3 separate regions of the Homo sapiens genome follow, and all the other regions are linked to region 3. The links are contacts of gene promoters, found by promoter capture Hi-C in blood cells and fetal thymus (Javierre and others, 2016). All regions are on one chromosome and are shown on one strand. Each heading gives the region's core, a stretch centred on a gene start or on the middle of the fragment in contact. The rest is flanking DNA. Distances are from core to core; before and after follow the strand shown.

What was found. Contacts are between HindIII fragments. The CHiCAGO score rates a contact against its expected background, and 5 or more counts as called.
Region 1: a contact is called between a fragment that was not itself captured here and the fragment with the promoter of HSD11B2 in region 3, in 2 of 17 cell types (endothelial precursors and M1 macrophages). The highest score is 5.7, in endothelial precursors.
Region 2: a contact is called between a fragment that was not itself captured here and the fragment with the promoter of HSD11B2 in region 3, in 3 of 17 cell types (endothelial precursors, megakaryocytes and M1 macrophages). The highest score is 5.9, in endothelial precursors.

Annotation. Positions count from the first base shown.
Region 1 is chr16:67,294,791-67,297,512 of GRCh38, forward strand. It overlaps KCTD19 (potassium channel tetramerization domain containing 19), which reads right to left. Exons shown (of 16, transcript NM_001100915.3): 7 at 2,713-2,722; 8 at 1,369-1,469; 9 at 473-615; 10 at 183-266. Among named protein-coding and RNA genes, the nearest start is that of PLEKHG4, 17 kb to the left of the region's middle. The HindIII fragment of the contact is 2,833 bases long and covers 1-2,697 here.
Region 2 is chr16:67,216,360-67,219,059 of GRCh38, forward strand. It overlaps the pseudogene FBXL9P. Among named protein-coding and RNA genes, the nearest start is that of TMEM208, 9.4 kb to the right of the region's middle. The HindIII fragment of the contact is 798 bases long and covers 898-1,695 here.
Region 3 is chr16:67,429,691-67,432,390 of GRCh38, forward strand. HSD11B2 (hydroxysteroid 11-beta dehydrogenase 2) reads left to right here and starts at 1,431. Exons shown (of 5, transcript NM_000196.4): 1 at 1,431-1,823. The coding sequence starts at 1,559. RefSeq lists silencers at 1,100-1,149, 1,370-1,549. The HindIII fragment of the contact is 16,145 bases long and covers 1-2,700 here.

The DNA of each region.
Region 1 (2,722 bases), core at 31-2,530, 140 kb before region 3:
GACAGCAGGGAAGAAGGGGCTCTTAAAGGGTTTTGCCTAGGTCACTGGCCAATCCTGGGCCTGCTTCACTCCCTCAACCCCAAGGAGATCAGGATCCTCTAGGAGTAGGACTTAGGACAGGATTTCAAGAGGAATTTAAAGGACCAAATTCTAAACATAGAGTCGTGATAAAGTTTTCTTACTTGTATGCTTCACATTGTGCAAGGGCTTCTGAGAGGGATGGAATGTGGTATTCCTCCACCTCCTGGCAGAAGAGGGGCCATTCCCTGCAAACAACAAGGAGATATCCAGCTGGGCAGCTAGGATGAGGGTGTGGGAGGGAGCATGAGCTCCTGGAACTGCCGCTGCCAACAGTTCCCACGATGGAAATAAAATAACCTCCTCCCTGAAGGCTGCAACTCAGGTCTCCTTTGTTGCTAAGGGAGGGGTCAGCCTTCGTGATTTCATCTTACTGCGTCCTTGCTTCACTTACTTAAATTCAGATGGTAAAAACAGTTTGCCAAGTCTCAGGAAGTTGAGAATGTGTCGGAACATCTGGCCATCCCCGTGGATGAGCAGGGTTTGTCCATATGTGATCCAGTACACTCTCTGAGGGTTGGACAGCAGTTCTGGATACTGGAGGGGGTTGGACACCGGACTCAGTCTCAGAGGCTAGGTCTTTGCGAAGGGGCAGGTCAATCTTCTCTCACTCCCCTTTTCCAACTACACTAGAGCAGAGGCTTTGAGATTCCATTTCCCTGTCTTGTCAGTCACAAGGAACCATGGTGGGGAGCAGAGCTTCCAGGGAGAAGCACATCATCCCTGCTTCAACTTTTGATGGCCCCTAGACCACCCTCTCAAGGCATTTGGAAGCCCACCGTACCTCCTTCTCAGTCCAGGTCCCTCAGAGCTGGCCCCCTCCCTATGCAAACTCTGGAGGGCCTTCCCAGCAGGCCACTCGGTCCACTTGTGCTCTGTTTTGTTTTGTTTTTTGAGGCAGAGTCACACTCCGTCACCCAGGTTGGAGTGCAGTGGCGCGATCTCAGCTCACTGCAACTTCTATCTCCTGGGTTCAAACAATTCTGGTGCTTCAGCCTCCCAAGTATCTGGGATTACAGGCACGTGCCATCACACCCAGCTAATTTTTGTATTTTTAGTACAGACGGGGTTTCACCATGTTGGTCAGGCTGGTCTTGAACTCCTGATCTCGTGATCTGCCCACCTCAGCCTCCCAAAGTGCTGGGATTACAGGCATGAGCCACCGTGCCTGGCGGGAAAGCCTTTGTTCTAAGCAAGTGCTGGAAGCTGTGTGAGGGCCAGGTGATGGCCCCCAGAGCAGCTCAGGTGGTGATGCCAGATGGGGAGCAGGGCAGCCGAGGCCGTCAGTACCTTCAGCAGTGTCTGCAGGGTGGTTGCGTACCAGTGGCTTCCAACATACACTTTGATGATCTGTTGTGGGGAATACACAGTGATCTCTGCCGTCCACTCATCTATGGGAATCCAGGAGATAGAACACATCATCATATGGCCAGAAGGGAAAGCAGGTAGGGCCCTTTGGTTAGTAGTGTATTTCACGTTAAGTCTCAATATCTTTCCTCAGTCATATTGTGTTGCCTAGTCTGAGAAGCAGCAGAAATCCCTGACATAAACCTTGCTTGCTGCAAGGTTTCCTGGGTGGTGAGGCGGGAAAGGGCACTGCCCCTCTTCACCTGACCCTCCTCCCTCAGGAAAGCTGGGTTGATGACCCTGTCCACCTACAATGCCAGCTGCCTCCGGTTTCTGGTTGGGTGTGTCCTGAGTGTGTAGCTTTTCATGTGGCCACTCAGACTGAAGCTAGGAATCTCTCTCTGTGTGTTTATGTTCGTGGTTTGGCAAATGTCATGGAGCCAACTCTCATCAAATCCCTGTCACTTTTATGAGACTAAGCCTCTAGGCATGTCTGGAGAATGGGGGCTGTATGCTGGAAAGATGAACCCATAACCCTTTTCCTGGAGATGACTATATGTAGGCCTTGTTCTGATGTTTGGGAAGCAGTTTCTAATGAGCTCTGTAATGAATGAAGGGTATATAACTAGATTATATAACCAAGAGATAAGATGTATAGAACTAGACCGTGAACTCCAGGAAGAAAGGGACTAAGTCTGTGTTGCTTACTTCTGTGCCGCCAGTGTCTACTGCTGTCCTGGTATATGACCGGTACTCAATAAATGTTGGATGCTGCTAAATGATAGTAATACAGCTTAAACTTTGTCCCCCAAATTTTTGGTAATAAGAAGTTATAGGCAGCTGGTGAAAACAACATTAGCTTTGGACTCAGTCAAACCCCAGCTTGACCACTGTGTAACTTGAGTGAGTTTTCTTCTCTGAACCTATTTTTTGGCTGTTAAATGGACCCAGGGACAGCTCTGTTTAACAGAGGAGGCTCCTCCCTGCATGGCTGTGAGAAGCACAGCAAGTCAGCTCCCAGGGTCAAGGCAGGCCTGCCCTGGGGGTCCTGCGTGGCCCCAGACTGGGTAACAGCCCTGTCTGCTGCTGGAGACGAATTGTGGGCTTGGAGGTGAGGAGGGAGCACTTAATATGAAAGTTTCCCTTTTGTAAAAATCCAAAATATTGGCCTGGCTTTCCCCTCCTCCTCCATCTACAGTTCCTCGTCCTGGCCACATCATCTATTCCCTCCAATCTCCCAGATACTCCCCTGATGCTAAATTCAAACCTAGAAGCTTTCTCACTTACTGAGCACATC
Region 2 (2,700 bases), core at 47-2,546, 210 kb before region 3:
GGATCACGCATTCCTGGCAACAACTCCCCTCCAGCAAGGTCACCAACATGTGGGGGCTTCACCTCAGACCTCCCACAAGGGTTCTCTCTGCCATGTCACCTGCTCTGCATGGCCAGCAGCCACTCCCCTTGATGCCATCTCCACTGGGGTTCTGCAACTCTGCCCCCCTGGCTTTCCTCCTACCTTCTAGCCTGCTCTTCTTCAGGCTCTTTTGGGGTCAACAAAGAACAGAGATCCAGTCCACAGATGAGTGGGTTCCCCATGGTTTGTTCCACCCAAGAACACACACACGTGTGCACGTGCACATATGCACACGATCTTTGTGCCCCTCCGAGTGTACCCTGGCCAACTGCATTTTGCCCCATGGGGCCATCATTCCAACCACTGTCTTTCCGATCCACATGATGTTCCTGAACGCCAGACCCCGGGAGCCAAGTGCCTGACTGGCCTCTCTCCAGAGGGCACGATGCAGCATACCCAAATCTGAACTCATCATCTCATCCTCCAACTCTGCTCCTTCTAAACTCTCCCCACCCTCTATTGAGTCACCCAAGTGGGAAATTTGGGAGTGATTCTAGAATCCTCCCTCACTCCCCACATCCACAATGACCCAAGCCCCTTCCACTTTTGTTTCCCTGATACGGTGCAATCTGTCCCTCTGCTCCAACCTCACTGCTTCTGCCCTAGTTGAAGTCCCCATACTGTATGCCAGCAGCCCGAGAGCTGCTTCCTCTAAGCTCAGACCACGCCAGCTTCCTCCTTATCAGGTCCTGGCCTCCAGTTCCTCTGGCTCCAATCCATCCTGGGTTTTGTCACCATGTGACCCTTCCAAAAGGCGATTCTGCCTGTGCTCTCCAGACCCTCTGCCAGTTCCGCACGCCTCCAGGACACAGGCTAAGCTTCCTAAGCCTGCATTCAAGCCCTTCTAGGACCCAGGCCTGCTGCTTCAGCCAAGCTCTTCCCAAGCCCGTTCCCCTTCCTCCTAGTCCTGGCTCTGGGGCTGCCACTTCTGACCATTGTCCTGTACCGCACGCCTCTGCTCAGCTGCTTTTTCTGTTCTGGGGGGGTCCCACCCCTCACTGGCTCCTATTGGTCTATTTGGCAAATGTTTATTCCTCTCTCGAGTCTCAGGCCAAGCACCTCCTTCTCCATGGAGTCTTTTCTGATCTTTTCTCTGCACCCATGATGTGCCTCACACAGACTTCAAATGCAGCACCCCAGCCTCTTTTTACTCATCTGTACTCACTACACACTCCCCAGCCCTGTGCCTTCCTCAGTTTTGCCTCGCTGGTGCCCAGCACACTGCCCGGCACAGCAGAAACATTTGAGTAAGGCTGCCCACACCCTCTCTATGTGTCTCTGGTAATTTTCCATCTTCCTCCTGTCCTGTGACTGCTCCAACCCTCTCTGCTGAAGCCCTGGCCTCTATGTCTCTTTTTACTCTCCTGAGACAACCTGGTCTCCAAATCCACTGAGTGAAGGGGCCGCTGAGGAAGGAGATGCCTCTGAGGAACTTCTCTGCAAATAGCTCCATGTTTCCACCCCCACCTCTCTGCTTCCTCAGGAAGAGGTGACATCCTTTTTTTCACCAAACTGATGCTGAAAAAACAAAAAAGAAAAACACACACATACACACACAAAAAAACAAAAAAAAAAAAGGGAGAGGTGATATCCTCTCCATCCTATCCCAGATCAAGCTTGGTATGTGGAAGCCTGTCCCTGCCACCATCTTCTACACCTGACCTCTCTCCTCCCCGAATCTTCACCCCTCCTCTAGTGACTCCCTGAAGCATTTATTTATTTATTTAATTTATTTATTTACTTTTTTTTTTTTTGAGACAGAGTCTCACTCTGTCACCCAGGCTGGAGTGCAGTGGCACGATCTCAGTTCACTGCAACCTCCACCTTCCAGGTTCAAGCGATTCTCTGCCTTAGCCTCCTGAGTAGCTGGGATTACAGGCACCTGCCACCATGCCCGGCTAATTTTTTGTATTTTTAGTAGAGACGGGGTTTCACCATCTTGGCCAGGATGGTCTTGAACTCCTGACCATGTGATCCACCCACCTTGGCCTCCCAAAGTGCTGGGATTATAGGTGTGAGCCACTGCACGCGGCCTCTTTTTTTTTTTTTTTCCTTTTTTTTTTGAGATGGAGTCTTGCCCAGACTGGCTGGAGTGCAGTGGTGCAATCTCGGCTCACTGCAAGCTCCGCTTCCTGGGTTCATGCCATTCTCCTGCCTCAGCCTCCTGAGTAGCTGGGACTACAGGCGCCCACCACCACGCCCAGCTAATTTTTTGTATTTTTTTTTTTTTTTTTAGTAGAGATGGGGTTTCACCGTGTTAGCCAGGATGGGTTTTTCGTTGTTTTTTTTTGAAATGGAGTCTTGCTCTGTTGCCCAGGCTGGAGTGCAGTGACATGATCTCAGCTCACTGCAAGCCCCACCTCCCAGGTTCAAGTGATTCTCCTGCCTCAGCCTCCCGAAGAGCTGTGATTACAGGCATTCGCCACCATGCCCAGCTAATTTTTGTATTTTTAGTAGAGATGGGGTTTCACCATGTTGGCCAGGGTGGTCTCGAACTCCTGACCTCAATTGATCTACCAGCATTGGCCTCCCAAAGTGCTGGGATTACAGGCTTGTGTCACTGCACCGGGCCACCCTGAAGCTTTATTTATTTATTCATTTATTTATAGACAGGGTCTT
Region 3 (2,700 bases), core at 181-2,680:
CATCTGTCCTTAGGAGGAGGGATAGGTGGAGGCACAGGAGTGGCTCAGGGCAAATTGGTCCTCCACCCAGAGACTCTCCCTTTAGGTGGGTCTGGCTCCCAGCCTCCCCTGAGATTTCCCTGGCTCACCAGGGGGCTGTGTCTGGTGGCAGAGAGGGCTTTGGAGGAGGCATTGCCCTGAAACCCTGGCAGAGCCTGGGCACCTAAGAGAGAATGAGCAACAGGGCTAGGAAGTGTGACAGGGAGTCCACAACCTCCCAGGATCTTGGGAGGGCAGGGATGAGGCACTGAGCACGGCCTGGAAGCCCACGGGAAGCAGGGACCCCTCTGTCGAGGGCTACACCTACTGCTCTCAGCATCAAGCCTGCAGCCAGGTACTGGCACCAACTCCCAGTGCCTGGCAGAGCCCTGGCATGGATGCTAGGCACAGGGTGCCAGACACGGGGGTGGGCAGGGTGGGGGGCCACTGGGCCACACACAAGCATGGAGACCTTCACACACGCAGGCAGAAAAATCCACCCACACTCATACCACTTATTTTACCCCCTGGGGGTTCAGGGGAGCAAGGCAGGGACCACCCTGTCCTAGAGGCTGCCTTCACCGACGTCCCTCTGGCCTGGCTCTTGGGGTTGGCGGGGGTGGGCCATAAGTAATGGGAGACCTAGGTGCTTCCTCTGACACCCCACCCTCCACTGACCCCCACACACATACATTTGTGAGGCAGGAAGTGGGGTTGTGCGTCCCCAGGTTTAAGCCCTGGAAGGAAAGGGAAAGACGGGGCAGAGACTCCAAGAACCGGGAGCGGTCGTCCTGTTCCCCCGCCAGCCCCTGTCCCAGGCAGGTTTTGTGGCCGCGAGCTGCTCAGGGGTGAGCGCGCCTTAGGGTGTGTGCGCCAGGGACCTGGCGCAGCCGACCACGTGGGAGTGCGGCGCGTGTACGGGCGCGGGCGGCAGCGGCAGCGGCAGCGGAGACCGGGTGAGCACCGGCTGGTTCCTCGCGGTGTTCCTGCAGGCTTGGCGGCCGCGGTGGTGCGATCAGCAAAGGGCACCGGGATGCCGGTTGTGCGTGTCCTCAGGTGTCCCGAACAAGCGTGAGTGGCATGTGCTCACCTGAGCGCGGCGGCTTGGCGGCCCCGGGCGTGTGGGTGGGGGCGCGGCGGAGAGCTGAGGCCGGGCACCCGGGCTGGACCGACGGGCCCTCTCCCAAGCACCGCCCGCAGCCAGGCGGCTCCTCGAGCGCAGCAACTTTGGGACTTTGTTCCGGCTTTTTCCAAATCGAATCTGGTCGAGGGGGCGGGGCGGGGGGGGAGCACCTGCCCTGCGGGGGGTGCCGGGAGAGAAGTGAAGGAAAGCCCCGCCCCCGCCCCTCCCGCTCCCCGCCCTCTCCCCCGCCCCCGGGGCTCTTCATAAGCTCGGCCCGAGGGCGAGCAGAGAAAGCGAGTGTCCCTCTCGCGCCCCAGGCCGGTGTACCCCCGCACTCCGCGCCCCGGCCTAGAAGCTCTCTCTCCCCGCTCCCCGGCCCGGCCCCCGCCCCGCCCCGCCCCAGCCCGCTGGGCCGCCATGGAGCGCTGGCCTTGGCCGTCGGGCGGCGCCTGGCTGCTCGTGGCTGCCCGCGCGCTGCTGCAGCTGCTGCGCTCAGACCTGCGTCTGGGCCGCCCGCTGCTGGCGGCGCTGGCGCTGCTGGCCGCGCTCGACTGGCTGTGCCAGCGCCTGCTGCCCCCGCCGGCCGCACTCGCCGTGCTGGCCGCCGCCGGCTGGATCGCGTTGTCCCGCCTGGCGCGCCCGCAGCGCCTGCCGGTGGCCACTCGCGCGGTGCTCATCACCGGTGAGTGCGCGGGTCGCGGAGCGCGGGGACTCCAGGCTCGAGGGCGGGACTGGACACTCAACAGGACTGACTCCCCATGGGCACAGCCAAGGCGGGCTCCTCAGCGCAAGAGTGGGAGAGTTCTCCACCCCTGGGTGCAGGGAGCGAGCCAAATAGGGAGCGCCGGGCACCTCCCCAAGCCCGGGTTCACTACCTGCCGCTGCGGGGAGTGTTGGAGGGAAAGTGAGACAGGGAGTGGGCCGGTTCGAGAAGGAAACTGACTGGTGGCTGAGAAGAGGGAACCTCCTGGAGTTTGAGAGTTTATGCCATTCCCTTCCCCAAGAGAGCAGTCTCAGGGGACTTCGGAGGCCTTGAGAAGGGAGGATCGTTACCCCTTGAACTCTGCCTGACATCCCCACCTAAGATACCCATCTCCCATTCCTCGGGCCAGAGGGAAGAGCTTAGATGGGGAACTTCCCCACCCCACCCATCCCCCACTGGCTGGGATCCTTGGAGTTCAGAAAAGCTAGAGGTCACCGTGAGGGGCAGCTGGACATTCAGCTGTCTTTCTGTCTAGCCACCCACTGCCAAACTGCTGAGGCAGTAGTTTGGAGCCTACACCCAGCACCCCACCCCCAAGCCCTCCTGGTCCTCTGTGCCCAGGAAGGAGCTCTTAGAGAGCTGGGCTCAGGTGCCTCTGGCCGCCTAGCTGAGCTCCTTTGTCTGGAGCAGGGAATAAATCTGTCACCAGAGGGAGGGAAGGGGAAGGGGGGGGGGGGCTGGAGGCCCGCCGGAAGTGGGGAGGGGGAGAAAGGCCAGGGGGCACTGACTCCATTGCATCGTGGGAGGAGCAGCCTGGTCTCTCGCCAATACCCACGGCTTTGGACAGGTGCTCCAG